Regions from separate parts of the Homo sapiens genome. Here all the other regions are linked to region 1. The links are contacts of gene promoters, found by promoter capture Hi-C in human tissues and cell types (Jung and others, 2019). All regions are on one chromosome and are shown on one strand. The core of a region is centred on a gene start or on the middle of the fragment in contact, and the rest is flanking DNA. Distances in the headings are between cores, read along the strand shown. Region 1 holds the start of CCR10 (C-C motif chemokine receptor 10). Region 2 holds the start of NBR1 (NBR1 autophagy cargo receptor). Region 3 overlaps STAT3 (signal transducer and activator of transcription 3). Region 4 has its middle 16 kb from the start of AARSD1. Region 5 holds the start of AARSD1 (alanyl-tRNA synthetase domain containing 1).

What was found. The method cuts DNA at HindIII sites, captures the fragments that hold promoters and counts their contacts. A contact is called where the count stands out against the background at its distance.
Region 2: a contact is called between the fragment with the promoter of NBR1 here and the fragment with the promoter of CCR10 in region 1, in 1 of the 25 tissues and cell types used here (mesendoderm cells).
Region 3: a contact is called between a fragment that was not itself captured here and the fragment with the promoter of CCR10 in region 1, in 1 of the 25 tissues and cell types used here (pancreas).
Region 4: a contact is called between a fragment that was not itself captured here and the fragment with the promoter of CCR10 in region 1, in 1 of the 25 tissues and cell types used here (mesendoderm cells).
Region 5: a contact is called between the fragment with the promoter of AARSD1 here and the fragment with the promoter of CCR10 in region 1, in 1 of the 25 tissues and cell types used here (mesendoderm cells).

The regions. Positions count from the first base shown.
Region 1 is chr17:42,680,558-42,683,401 of GRCh38, forward strand. It overlaps CCR10 (C-C motif chemokine receptor 10), which reads right to left and starts at 1,286. Exons shown (of 2, transcript NM_016602.3): 1 at 1,243-1,286; 2 at 1-60. The coding sequence starts at 1,266. CNTNAP1 (contactin associated protein 1) reads left to right here and starts at 1,974. Exons shown (of 24, transcript NM_003632.3): 1 at 1,974-2,339. The coding sequence starts at 2,273. RefSeq lists enhancers at 1-288, 1,507-2,125, 2,069-2,118, 2,379-2,428 and a silencer at 674-968. The HindIII fragment of the contact is 6,302 bases long and covers 1-2,844 here.
Region 2 is chr17:43,169,944-43,172,793 of GRCh38, forward strand. It overlaps NBR1 (NBR1 autophagy cargo receptor), which reads left to right and starts at 1,271. Exons shown (of 21, transcript NM_005899.5): 1 at 1,271-1,359. It overlaps LOC101929767 (a long non-coding RNA gene), which reads right to left and starts at 460. Exons shown (of 2, transcript NR_110868.1): 1 at 183-460. It overlaps LOC124900391 (a long non-coding RNA gene), which reads right to left and starts at 1,021. Exons shown (of 2, transcript XR_007065760.1): 1 at 473-1,021. It also overlaps a transcript of BRCA1 not described here and the pseudogene BRCA1P1. RefSeq lists enhancers at 92-301, 572-621, 872-981, 1,302-1,411. The HindIII fragment of the contact is 14,047 bases long and covers 1-2,850 here.
Region 3 is chr17:42,337,837-42,340,591 of GRCh38, forward strand. STAT3 (signal transducer and activator of transcription 3) reads right to left here. Exons shown (of 24, transcript NM_139276.3): 5 at 1,478-1,573; 6 at 895-976; 7 at 1-21. Among named protein-coding and RNA genes, the nearest start is that of STAT3, 49 kb to the right of the region's middle. RefSeq lists a silencer at 1-17. The HindIII fragment of the contact is 7,087 bases long and covers 1-2,755 here.
Region 4 is chr17:42,946,575-42,949,364 of GRCh38, forward strand. No RefSeq gene overlaps it. Among named protein-coding and RNA genes, the nearest start is that of AARSD1, 16 kb to the right of the region's middle. The HindIII fragment of the contact is 8,985 bases long and covers 1-2,790 here.
Region 5 is chr17:42,963,004-42,965,703 of GRCh38, forward strand. It overlaps AARSD1 (alanyl-tRNA synthetase domain containing 1), which reads right to left and starts at 1,451. Exons shown (of 12, transcript NM_001261434.2): 1 at 1,399-1,451; 2 at 1,103-1,234. The coding sequence starts at 1,437. PTGES3L-AARSD1 (PTGES3L-AARSD1 readthrough) reads right to left here. Exons shown (of 17, transcript NM_001136042.2): 7 at 1,103-1,234. The HindIII fragment of the contact is 19,831 bases long and covers 1-2,700 here.

The sequences.
Region 1 (2,844 bases), core at 36-2,535:
CGGCAGTGGCTCAGCCGAGTATGCGTCCTCTTCATCCCCAGAGTAATGGCCCCAGGAAACCTGGGAGGGTCAAATGAGAGGCGGGATCTTATGAGACACATCTGACCACACAACTCCCCCGCCCACACTTGCCTTCCAAGCTGAGAGCTCCTGTGTGGCCAGATGTAACAGTACACGGGGAGACATAAGCTCTTCTCCAGACTCTTCCTAGCACACCTTCAGCAGGCCTTGGCTTCCCTTGCACCCCTCCTACCTCTGCTTCCAGCTTCCTGGGTGACCTTGAGCAAGCCACTTGCTCTTTCTAGACCTCAGTTACCTAACCTGTAATGTTGAGATTATAAATCCTGACCAGCCCACCTCTCAAGGTTTGCTGTGAAGATGGCAATATGGAAAATAATGGATGGGGAGAACCTGTGTTCTCCAAAGGCCATAATACAAAGTTTGTATTATTATTATTATTTATTATTATTATTATTGGAGACAGAGTCTTGCTCTGTCGCCCAGGCTGGAGTGCAGTGGCACGATCTCGGCTCACTGCAACCTCCGCCTCCGGGTTCAAGAGATTCTCCTGCCTCAGCCTCCCAAGTAGCTGGGACTACAGGCGCCCACCACCACGCCCAGCTAATTTTTGTATTTTTAGTAGAGATGGGGTTTCACCATGTTGGCCAGGATGGTCTCGAACTCCTGACCTCAGGTGATCCGCCCACCTTGGCCTCCCAAAGTACTGGGATTACAGGCCTGAGCTACCACGCCCAGCCCAAAGTTTGTATTATTAATAAATCCTACAGCTTCAGTTCCCTTTGCAGCGCCCTCTCCTGGAAGGATGCCCATATGCAGGCTTTGCCTCAGACCTGAGCCCTGGACTCCAACCTCCGTCTGGAGTGGGTTTCTGTTTCTCTTCTTTCCCTTCCATACCCACCTTCCCTGTACCTCCAATACCAGCACACTGAACCACTCATGCCAAGGGGGTCTCCAGGGTTGGGACTCAGGTTTTCAGGGCCCAGGTGGGACCCTGGACCTCTAGGTTCAACCCGCCTTTCCCCTCAGCCCTAGTCCCTGTCCCACAACCCCAGCCTCACACCACCAGCCCATTTATCTGGAGGACCCCTAGTCTGAGACAGCGCCAAGAATCCTGAATAAGCCATAGGATGGCAGAGGCCCATTGCCAGGTGGGGAATCCCATTCCTTCCCTGTCTCCTCCCTCTCTGTAACCCTTCTCCCCCTCCCTGCCCCCACTCCCACCTGCTCTGTGGCCTCCGTCCCCATCTCTGGCTACACAGGTTTCTGAGGTATAGCCACAGGGGGTAGAAGTTAAACTACTAGCGGGACAGGAAGGAAGAGGCGGGGAGAGGGGCCGAGAGGGAGGTGGGGATTAGGGTCTACGGGGTCACTTTCCCATTCCACCTCCTCCAAAAGACTTCACTCTCTTGTGCAGGATCTGGATTTTACGAAAAAAAAAAAAAGAAGAAGAAAGGAAGGAAAGAGGAAAGAAAGAAAGAAAGAAAGAAAAAAAGGAAGGAAAGAAAGAAAAAAGAATGAACGAAAGAAAGAAAAAATAATTTACTGTCTTTGTCAGTGAAGAAAGAACGGGCTTCGGAATATAATCATTTGCTGTGTGATATTGACTAAGTTTCTTGACCTCTCTGAGCCTGAGGTTTTTCATCTGCAAAGTGGAGTAGGGCAAAAATGCTAAATTCACAGTGCCCAGCACCACTCCTAGAGCATAATTTGCCTTCCGAAAATGTTAAGATTCTTTTACTTACCCTTCATTCCATTTCCAGGCACCCCTCCCCCAAACCACCTCCCTTTTCTTGAAATTTTCAGGATGCTTCTGGCCCTAGGTTCCCTGTCCTCACTCCTGTGGCCCTAGTCCCGGGCAGCCTCGGGTTACTTGGGGTTTTCCCGGTGGCGAGAGGCTCTCTACCCCCGCCCTTTCGCAGCAGGGCTGAGGCACGCGCTTGCGCGGGGTCCGGGAAACCGGCGCGTGCCAGGAGACAGAGGCTGGGGAAGGGGGGAGGTGAGAGGAAAGAGGGTGGAAAGGAGAGGATAGAGAGAGAAGAGCGGAGGACCAGGAACCAGAGAGAGAGAGAGAGAAAAGAGAGAGGAGAGACAGAGCGCTTGGGGGCGAAAGGAGAGAGGGAGGGAAGGGTGGGTAAGGAGGAGAGAGCGGTCTGCTGCAAACCCCAGGAGGAGAGCTTGGAGCCCAAGCCAGAACTCGAGCCCTAGCCGGAGCCGTTCACAGGGAGGCGGCTGCCGGGACCGTCAGCCCTGCATGATGCATCTCCGGCTCTTCTGCATCCTGCTCGCCGCGGTCTCAGGAGCCGAGGGCTGGGGCTACTGTGAGTGTTGGGCTTGGAGGCAGGTGGGGTTGGGCCCAGGAGTCCAGAGCCTGCAGGGCGGCCCCGAACCGCATTGCGGCTGGGTGGTCGCGGGTCCTTCCCGGCCGGCGCGCGCCCGCTGGCTCTCATCTTTTCCTGCCTCTCCCCCGCGCTCCGCATTGCAGCTCTGAGGCTGCCGCGCGCGCCCGGGGCTGGGGCTGGGCTCTGGGAAGAGGATGAAGTCAGCGGGCAGGGATTTGGGGTTGGGATCCAAGCAGGAGCTGGTGCCTGGGTTTGAGGCTAGGGCTGGGGGATAAGTGTATACTGGTGACCGATACTAGGATTAAGGTTTTGCCAGGGCTTAAGGCTGGACTTTGGAGCTGGCCAAGGGGTGGGGTTTGTGGCTAGGGCTGGGGTTTGTGGCTGGGGCTGGGTTTTGTGGCAGGGATCCAAGCAGGAGCTGGTGCCCCTGACTGATGCTAAGGCTGGACATGGAGCTGGTGATGGTGCTAGCACTGGCTGAGGT
Region 2 (2,850 bases), core at 21-2,520, 490 kb after region 1:
CCAGGCCAAAAAGTTTCAATATTTACACTGGCTGCTTTAATAAGGGCATTGATCTTATCCTCCGTAAAGGTCACCTCATAGTCCTGCAGAATGAGGGCAGAGTAGATGCAGGCAAGCTGGGAGACGGAGGCCATAGCGCGGGCGAGTGTGGGGCTGGGGCTGCCGGACGCGGTGCTACTCACCGGATGAAGTGAGGGTCTCACCCCAACGCGGCCTTAGCTTCCTCGGAAGGACCGAACACCTTGGCGGCAGCCGAGGAAAGGGGTTCCACAGTTTTAATTTATCTGTAATTCCCACGCTTTACTGTTGCCACGGAAACCGCTGAGCAATAGCCTCTCAGAATAGGAAATCAAGACACAGTCAGAGGAAGGGCGGGACAGAAAGAGCCTAGCATCTCTCGGGGCTCTGGGTTGGCCACCCAGTCCTCCCCTGGTGACATAAAAAGAAAGAGACGGAAAAGGAAGAATTCTACCTGAGTTCGCCGTAAAGCGCCCGCCCTCTCGCCTCTACGCTTCCAGTTGCGGCTTATTACGTCACAGTAATTGCTGTACCAAGGTCAGAATCGCCACCTGAGGCCTGAATATCAGCGTAAGATAGTGTCCAAAGCAGTCTTAAGAAGAGGTCCCATTACCCCACTCTTTCCGCCCTAATGGAGGTCTCCAGTTTAGGTAAATAAAAGGATTGTTGGGAGGTGGAGGGAAAGAACTACTATTTCCAACATGCATTGCGGAACGAAAGGCCTTGGCCACACTGTTCCTTGGAAACTGTAGTCTTATGGAGAGGAACATCCAATACCAAAGCGGGCACAATTCTCACGGAAATCCAGTGGATAGATTGGAGACCTCCGCGGGCTTATACATGTCAACAGTAATGGATTGGAGTGTTGTTATGTTCTCCTATCTTGAGAGCAGAGACTAGGCCAAAAAAAGATACCTACAACTCCTAGGAAGACTACGATTCCCATCCAGCCCCACGAGTCTCGGGCAAGTAGTCCTCTAAGGTCAGTGGCCTGCGGGGACGCAGTGGGCGCCGAATTTGCCTGGGGAAGGGGAAATCCGCTCTGGCCCACATCTGCGCACTCCTAGTTCCGCCCCTCAGCCTCAATGTTTGTTATTGTTGTTCGGGTTCAGGTTGCTTCTGCCCCGCCCCATCGACGCAATCTCCACCAATCAATGGCGTGGTCGTTTTGAGGGACAAGTGGTGAGAGCCAATCATCTTGGCGAACACTCGGAGAAACAGGGGACTAGTTACTGTCTTTATCCGCCATGTTAGATTCACCCCACAGGGATAGCGGCAGAGCCGGTAGCGGACGGTCCTTGCATTGGCCTCCGGCAGGCGCCCCCCGGGGGCGGGAAGCTGGTAAGGAAGCAGCTGCGGTTACCTAGGGGTGGGGTCACGTCACGCTAAGAGGGTTTGGGGAAGTTCAAGGGAGGAATCCTGCAAAGAAGAGGGGCGACTTTTTCCGTGTTTCGGGACAGCTAATCTTTTTAGTGACAGGATGAGAGAGCCCTTCATGTTCAGAGGGACCGAGTTGGCGAGAAGCGCCGGAGAGTTGGAGAGTCTGTGGGTCAGAACATCCGGCTTCTACTGATGGAAGGCCACGACTCCCCAGTGGAATGAGGGCCTAGGCAAAGAAAATGAGAGAGCCCTCGGGGTAGTGACACTGTCTTGGGAACATGGAGTGCTAGGAAACGAAAACTGGAAGACTAGGATGAACTCTGCAAGTAAAAAAATGACACTACTTACACATCCTTCTCATCCCATCCTCGTTTTTTCGAGACCTTAAAGAGATCTCCTTGGTTAGGGACCTTCGGTTTTGGAAAGGCACTGTTTTTCCTTTTTGTCAAACACTCAGCTTTCAGGCCACACTTTTTTGAGACAGAGTCTTGCTTTCTCAAAGACCAACCCAGGCTGGGCTTGAACTGCTGAGCTCAAGCGATCCTCGTGCCTTGGCCTCCCAAAGTGCTGGGATTACAGGTATAAGCCACCGCTCCCGGCCTCAGGTCACACATTTTAAAGCCTGGATAACTTGGCTTGTAAAGGCCTCTGGTGGAGACAGTAATCAAAGCTCAGGTTGCCAGGTCTGTTTCATTAAAGGGATTTTGTTGAGGCTGAAAAAAAAATCGACGTGGAGGAAAAGCTAACTTGTGCCAAGCAAAGGTGAGTCAGTGGCATGGACTTACAATAATGCCAGTTATGAAAGCTGAAGGCCTAAGACCCAGCTATCTGACTCTACTGGCTGTAGACCTAAGGGGCAGATAGGGTTAACCATAGCTTTGGTGTTTACACACGTTTAAGATTAATGCTCCTGCTGAAAGAATTTTTTTACATGTCAGCCAAAGAGAGTTCCTTATGAAGACCTGGATATGGTCCAGCCAAGCTAGAATCTCCCACTTCCTGTTTTCTCTTAGTTGGCCCACCAGCTGGAGGAGCTCCAGAGTATCTAAATTTCCAATTGTGTAATTTGAGAAAAAGAGAGGAAGATTCATTTCCTTCACAAGTAGGGAAGTGTGTTTCTTGAAGTTGGAAAGTGATATTTCAGAATACCCACTTTTGGCGGACTGAGTCACTTCATTTCCTTGATTTTTTGCCTAAGGTCCTGGGGAATTGACAAAGATTCTCAAATTTTAAGGACCCCAATAATTACATTTCATATGAATGAATACTAGATGTCAGCAGGATTGTTGTTAAGAGACTAATATTATTTTGGTGGTGAACTTGGTTCTTGGTAGAAACAAAGAATGGAGAAAATTGGGGGATAATTGTCTTAGGGTTTCAAAAAAGTGCCTTTAAATGACAGTCTTAATTGTAGTATTTTACAGGGCAGTGCATTACATTGTGGAAAACAGT
Region 3 (2,755 bases), core at 1-2,500, 340 kb before region 1:
TTCCATTCAGATCTTGCATGTCTGCGAAGGAAGAAAAAACTCCTTGACCTGAGGGAATACTCCTTGACCTGAGGGAATACTCCTTGACCTGAGGGAATACTCCTGGACCTGAGGGAATACTCCTGGACCTGAGGGAATACTCCTGGACCTGAGGGAATACTCCTTGACCTGAGGGAATACTCCTGGACCTGAGGGAATACTCCTGGACCTGAGGGAATACTCCTGGACCTGAGGGAATACTCCTGGACCTGAGGGAATACTCCTGGACCTGAGGGAATACTCCTGGACCTGAGGGAATACTCCTGGACCTGAGGGAATACTCCTGGACCTGAGGGAATACTCCTTGACCTGAGGGAATACTCCTGGACCTGAGGGAATACTCCTGGACCTGAGGGAATACTCCTGGACCTGAGGGAATACTCCTTGACCTGAGGGAATACTCCTGGACCTGAGGGAATACTCCTGGACCTGAGGGAATACTCCTGGACCTGAGGGAATACTCCTGGACCTGAGGGAATACTCCTGGACCTGAGGGAATACTCCTTGACCTGAGGGAATACTCCTGGACCTGAGGGAATACTCCTGGACCTGAGGGAATACTCCTGGACCTGAGGGAATACTCCTGGACCTGAGGGAATACTCCTGGACCTGAGGGAATACTCCTTGACCTGAGGGAATACTCCTTGACCTGAGGGAATACTCCTGGACCTGAGGGAATACTCCTGGACCTGAGGGAATACTCCTGTCCTTAATGACCAGGCTCCTTTGAGGACCCGTACCTCCCTTGCGCCCCGCCCGCCTTAAGATCTAAACAGAGTTAAGACAAATGAGTCTTTCAACTCAACAACACAAACTCACTTTCTAGAGATTTTAACATCTCTAATATTCACTTGCCTCCTTGACTCTTGAGGGTTTTATAGTTGAAATCAAAGTCATCCTGGAGATTCTCTACCACTTTCATTTTCTGTTCTAGATCCTGTTTAAAATAAGCAAACAAAAAAACAGAAGTAAAGAAAGATTTCCTTGGGAACAGAAAATATAAAGTTTCTGAGGAGAATTCAAATGAAGCCAAAACCTCAAAAAAGATACATGCAGGACCTGCAGGCAGTATCCCCAAGAGAAGGCTCCCTGTTGGCCAGGTGCAGTGGCTCACGCCTGTAATGCCAGCACTTTGAGAGGCTGAGTTGGGAGGATCACTTGAGCCCAGGAGTTCATGATCAGCCTGGACAACACAGGGAGACCCCCATCTCTACAAATTTTTTTTTTTTAATTAGCTGGGCGTGGTGGTGCATGCCTGTGGTCCCGGCTACTTGGGAGGATGAGGTAGGAGGATCGCTTGGGCCTGAGAGGTCGAGGCTGCAGTGAGCTGTGATCATGCCACTGCAGCCCAGCCTGAGTGGCAGAGCAAGACCCTGTCTCAAAAAAAAAAAAAAAAATTAATGAAAGCTCCCTGCCCGAGGCTTGTAACTTGCATCACCTGCACTCTCTTCCGGACATCCTGAAGGTGCTGCTCCAGCATCTGCTGCTTCTCCGTCACCACGGCTGCTGTGGGGTGGTTGGCCTGGCCCCCTTGCTGCCAAAAAGGAGGTCAATGCACATGTGAACACAGAACTATGGGGAGAGGAATACCTCTACCCAGCTTCCATCCCACCCTAACTACCCTTCTTGTTTGGCTTGAGACGCTGCTGCCATCACAAGAGGAAGGGAAACAGAGGCAGTGGTGCTGTCACTACACAGGTGACACTACACAGGTCATACCATAAACCCCCTTTATGGCACTAAGAGACCACATGTTCAGCTAAGACATGGTCTATGCCTTCAAAAACCTCATGGGCAAGTATGTCAAAAAATTCAAAACAATTTATGACAGCAGATGTTGGATGTCTACTTAAACGTGGTGTCCAGTATATTTCTGAGGGATAATAAAAAAAAAGTCCTGCCCTAGGGATGAAATTCCATATTAAAAGATATTATCTTGGGGAGAAGGGGAGGCTGGTACCTTGGAAAATGTCAAATAGCACATGGAAAAAGAAAAAGAAGAAAGAAGGCTGGATGTAGCAGCTCACACCTATAATATCAGCACTTGGGAAGGCTGAAGTGGGAGGACTGCTTGAGGCCAGGAGTTCAAAACTAGCCTAGTCAACATAGTGAGGCCCCATCTCGAATGAATAAATGAATGAATGAATTAAAGAAATAACAAAAAATAAATAGCATATGAAACTTAAAAATTACAGGTTCGTGCCAGGTGCGGTGGCTGATGCCTGTAATCCCAGCACTTTGGGAGGCCAAGGTGGGCAGATTACCTGAGGTCAGGAGTTTGAGACCAGCCTGACCGACACGGAGAAACCCATCTCTACTAAAAATACAAAGTTAGCTGAGCTTGGTGGTGCATGCCTGTAATCCCAGCTACTCGGGAGGCTGAGGAAGGAGAATCGCCTGAACCCGGGAGGTGGAGGTTGTGGTGAGCCAAGACTGCGCCATGCACTCCAGCCTGAGCAACAAAAGTGAAACTCCATCTCAAAAAAAAAAAAAAAAAATTACAGGCTTGGGCTAGGCATGGTAGCTCCCACCTATAATCCTAGCACTTTGGGAAACCAAGGCAGGAGGATCACTTGAGGCTGGGAGTTTGAGACCGGCCCAGGGAACATAGAAAGAGACCTCATCTCAACCAAAAAAAAAAAAAAATTTTTTTTTAACTAGCTGGGCATGGTGGCATATACCTGTAGTTCTAGCTACTTGGGAGGCTGAGGTGGGA
Region 4 (2,790 bases), core at 84-2,583, 270 kb after region 1:
GGCTGATCTCAAACTCCCGACCTCAGGTGATCCACCTGCCTCAGCCTCCCAAAGTGTTGGGATTACAGGCATGAGCCACAGCGCCGGCCCTGAATTCAGTCTGTCTACTGCTCTGGGTCTCTTCCACCTGATACCTTTCATCTTTCATACTAACATCTGTTCTAGTACCTACATGCATCACCTTAGTGGAAGCTACAGCAGCTGTCTTCAGCAATTTATGGGTACGCACATAAAAAAATTTCCTTAGAAGCCAAGGAGTCCCCCTTACTATTTCTGTGCCGTAAAGTGGGTTATAGTAACATTCCAGAATATATAACCTGTGTGTGTACCTAAAACTTGATTACTCCAATAAATGAACTCATTTTGTTTCCTGGTGAACCTCATAAAAGACAATCCACCCCTTCCCCTGAACACACTCTGTTCTTCTCCCCCTCTCCCTGGGGCATTGGATTAGGGCCTCAGTGACAGGCAAGAATGACATCACCAGTTCAAAAACTGCTGCTTTATTTTCTCTTTCTTTATACAACCAATTACCATTTTCACATAATTTGCTCAAGTGTTTATGGCTTTTCTTAATTATTTCATAAGGTTCCTTCCTTCTTAGGACACCCAGTTCATGTGTCCATTTTCAGGTCAAGAAACTGAAGCTCAGGGAGTCTCAGCAGGGGGACCAGACATCCAGGCTACCTTAACACCGTCTGGGTTTCTGACTGTTGTTCTGGCATGAGGTTTGCCTAACTCTGGATATTAAAATTACATGGTTGCTCTAGGTCTAAGTGACAAGAACCCACCTGAGTGGTAGTGAGCAAGAGTGGCCTCCCAGGTCACTGTTCTTGTTGTTGCACCTGTGTTCTGAATCTTTGTGTACCCCTAAAAATTCATATGTTGAAATCCTAACCCCCTAAGTGGTATCAGGAGGTGGGCCCTTTAGCAGGTGATTAGGTCACGGGGGCAGAGCCTTCGTGAATGAAATTAGTGCATTATAAAAGAGGCCCGAGAGGGCTGGGTGCGGAGGCTCATGCCTGTAATCCCAGCACTTTGGGAGGCTGAGGCAGGCGGATCACCTGAGGTCAGGAGTTCGAGACCAGCCTGGCCAACATGGTGAAACCCCATCTCTACTAAAAATACAAAATATTAGCTGGGTGGGATGGCAGGCGCCTGTAATCCCAGCTACTCGGGAGGCTGAGGCAGGAGAATCACTTGAACCTAGGGGGTGGAGGTTGCAGTGAGCTGAGATTGCACCATTGCACTTCAGCCTGAGCAACAAGAGTGAAACTCCATCTGTCTCAAAAAAAAAAAAAAAAAAAAAAGGCCCAAGAAAGACCCCTTACCCTTTGCACCAAGGGTGCAAAAAGATGGCTATTCCTGAACCAGTATTTGAACCTTCACACCAGACACTGAATTTGCCAGCTTCCCAGCCTCCACTGTGAGAAATACATTTTTGTTGTTTATAAGCTACCTAGTTTTTGTTATTATAGCAGTCAGATCAGACTAAGGCACACCCTAAAGAAACAAACACAGAGAGGGACAGAGATCTCACACAGAGACAAATTCACATGGGTCTCTGTTCAAGATCCTGCCTGAGTCCTTCTACAAAAGTAAGGAAGCTTCTGTGAAGCAAACATTTCCCTTTCTCCCACTAATGGACCCATTTTGTATAGCATGAGTGTTACACTATGGTTTTATCTAAAACATGGCACTCTGAGAAAAGCAAGATGCAGAAGAGTATACAATGTGCTACCATTTATGTTTAAAAAGAGGGAAGATTTATGTACATCTATTTTTTAAAATACTACCAGAGGGATATATAAGAAATTGGTAACAGGCTGGGCATGGTGGCTCACGCCTGTAATCCCAACACTGGGAGGCCAAAGTGGACAAATTGCTAGAGCCCAGGAGTTCAAGACTAGTGTGGGCAACACGGCAAAGCACTGTCTCTAGAAAAAATACAAAAAATTAGCCAGGTGTGGTGGTGCACACCTCTAGTCCCAGCTACTCAGAGGGCTGAGGTGGGAGGATCACCTGTTCCCAGGAGGTTGAGACTGCAGTAAGCCATGATTGTGCCACTGCATTCCAGCCTGGGCAACAGAGTGAGACTATATCTGGAAAAAAAAAAAAAAAAAAGGCCAGGCATGGTGGCTCATACTTGTAATCCCAGCACTTTGGGAGGCCGAGGCCGGCGGATTACCTGAGGTCAGGAGCTCGAGACCAGCCTGGCCAACATGGTGAAACCCCATCTCTACTAAAAATACAAAATTAGCCGGGCATGGTGGCACATGCCTGTAATCCCAGCTACTCGGTAGGCTGAGGCAGGAGAATTGCTTGAACTCGGGAGGCGGAGGTTGCAGTGAGCGGAGACTGCGCCATTGCACTCCAGCCTGGGCAACAAGAGCGAAACTCCATCTAAAACAAAAAAATTAAGTGATTGATTCTGGAGAAAGAAATTGGGTAACTCAGTGGCAGGGTTGAAGGAAATTTTTGGTAGCACACACCTGTAATCCCAGCTACTTGGGTGGCTGAGGCACAAGAATTGCTTGAACCCAGGAAGCGGAGGTTGCAGTGAGCCAAAATCATGCCACTGCACTCCGGCCTAGGTGGCAGAACAAGACTCTTATCTCCAAAAAAAAAAAAAGTTCCTTTCAGAGTCGGAAGAACAAATAGCTGAACACAGCCACAGCCACAGCCACAGGTTATCTCCCCTGGATGTCAGCTTTTGTATTTCTCCTCTGTTATTTCATCCTGGCTGTCTAGGCCTTAACCATCTTTGTTCTAGCTAAAGCTGTGACTGGA
Region 5 (2,700 bases), core at 201-2,700, 280 kb after region 1:
CATAGCAAGATCCTGTCTCTTAAAAATAAAAAAGAAAGAAAATAACCTGCATGGTTCGCTGCCCACACACCTTAATACACCTTTTTTTTTTCTTTTGAGACGGAGTCTTGTTCTGTCCCCCACGCTGAAGTGCAGTGGCACAATCTTGGCTCACTGCAACTTCAGCCTCCCGGTTCAAGTGATTCTCATGCCTCAGCCTCCCGAGTAGCTGGGACTACAGGGGCCTGCCAGTATGCCTGGTTAATTTTTATATTTTTAGTAGAGACAAGGTTTCATCATGTTGGTCAGGCTACTTGGGAGGCTGAGACAGGAGAATCACTTGAACCCAGGAGGCGGAGGTTGCAGAGCTGAGATCATGCCACTGCACTTCAGCCTGATGACAGCGAGAGATTCTGTCTCAAAAAAAAAAAGAAAGAAAGAAAGAAAAGAAAAGAAAGAAAAGCCTTTCTCATAATGCCCACCTTTGGTGTTATTATCCTCCTCTTCCATCTTCACAATGTACCTCACTTGCGCTCATGTTGTACCTAGTCCTCATCACAGCACTGATAAATATGCTCTCTGCTGTACTACTGTAACCCGTCTATCTCACCTGAACTCCTTCAGGAACATCTTTTTCAGTCCCTAAAACCCGAAGCTAATTCCTTCCTTGGGGCCTTTGCACCTGCTATTCTACCTGCCTGAATACTCCCTCTGCCCCCCAGCACCACTAGATAATTGCAAAGACTCACCCCCTCACTTCGTTTAGGTCTCTACTGAAATAACTTACCCTTCATCTAGACAAGCATCCCATCACTCTCTTTCCCTTTACTTGGTTTTTGTTTATTACTTATTATACCTAGCACACACAGTTGTCTTCAATAAACATTCCACGTATATAAAGGCACTGTGTTGTTCACCGGTTATCCTTACAGCCTGGAATAATATCTAGCATATGTTATGTCTAGATAAGCAATTGCTGATAAATACTCATTAAATGAATAACAAAATGAATTAAACTAAAGCTCATCTGAATTCATTATGGCTGAGAAAAAAGGGGCAGGAGAGCATTTCGGCCTGAGCACAAAGAAACTGGGGGCTTCCTGGGAAGAGATCGTTTTGGTACCTGTCCCCCGCCCTCAGGGAAAAGCACTGTGTCTTCCAGCACCACTTGGAAACCGCTCAGCACTTCTTTCTTGCCGTTGCTCCCTTCAGTCTGCAGCTCCGCGGGACAGCAGGAGACCACGGTGGTGGTGAACTGAACAGAGAGGAATGAGAGAATAAGCCCCGACCCCAGCCCTAGCCCTAGCCCTCTCCACACCAGGACAGAATGCCATGTTGGCACTCCCTACACGTGGCGCCCTCTTCCCCAAACCGCCTTGCCGGCCCGGCAGTCTCAAGTGCCTCGCCGTGACGCCGTACCTCTCGGGCATAACTGTCACGCTGACACCAGAACGCCATACCTGCAGGCGTGTGAGGAGGCGCACGCGCAGAGAAGCCTGGGAGCGAACGGAGAGCGACGTGGGACAAACGTCATCAAGGGCGCTTGTCTGCGCAGAAGCAGGAGGGTAAGGAATGGAATGCGGTTTGGATAAATTTACTGAAAACGCGAATTGCATATTTGCTGGGTTGTTTAACGACTGTTCTAAGGCTTTACAAAGGACAAGACCAGGAGGAAAAAAACAAACAAACAAAAACAAAAAAACGCGACCTGGACAAGGCACGTGGTTTAGTGAGCCCCTTGGGGCCCCAGGGATGTAAGTATTCTGGCTGCGGAATCCCAGCGCATAGAGGCGGGGACGGGACTGGCATGGTTACTGAGCAGCACTGCCCAGTAGAAATAGAAAGCAAGGAGCTGGGGGAGGTGGCTCACGCCTGTAATCCCAGCATTTTGGGAGGTCGAGGCGGGTGGATCACCTCAGGCCAGGAGTTCGAGACCAGCCTGGCCAACATAGCGAAACTCCGTCTCTACTAAAAATACAAAAATTAGCCGGGCGTGGTGGCGGGCGCCTGTAATCCCAGCTACCCGGGAGGCTGAGGCAGGAGAATCGCTGGAACCCGGGAGGCGGGGTTGCAGTGAGCAGAGATTGCACCACTGCACTCCAGCCTGGGCGACAGAGCGAGACTCCGTCTCAATTAAAAAAAAAAAAAAAAAAAAAAAAAAAGGCCGAGCGCGGTGACTCACGCCTGTAATCCCAGCACTTTGGGAGGCCGAGGCGGGCGGATCACGAGGTCAGGATATCGAGACCATCCTGACTAACGCGGTGAAATCCCGTCTCTACTAAAAATACAAAAAATTAGCCGGGCGTGGTGGCGGACGCCTGTAGTCCCAGCTACTCCGGAGGCTGAGGCAGGAGAATGGCGTGAACCTGGGAGGCGGAGCTTGCAGTGAGCCGAGATCGCACCATTGCACTCCAGCCTGGGCGACAGAGCGAGACTCCGTCTCAAAAAAAAAAAAAAAAAAAAAAAAGAAGAACAATTTGGCCAGCGTGGCCAACATGGTGAAACCCTGTTTCTACTAAAAACACAAAAACATTAGCCAGGCGTGGTGGCACACGCCTATATAATCCCAGCTACACGGGAGGCTGAGGCAGGAGAATCACTTTAACCCGAGAGGAGGAGGTTGCAGTGAGCCGAAATCGTACCACTGCACTCCAGCCTGGGTAACCCAGCGAGACTACGTCTCAAGAAAATTACATTACATTACATTAAAATAGTTTGGGC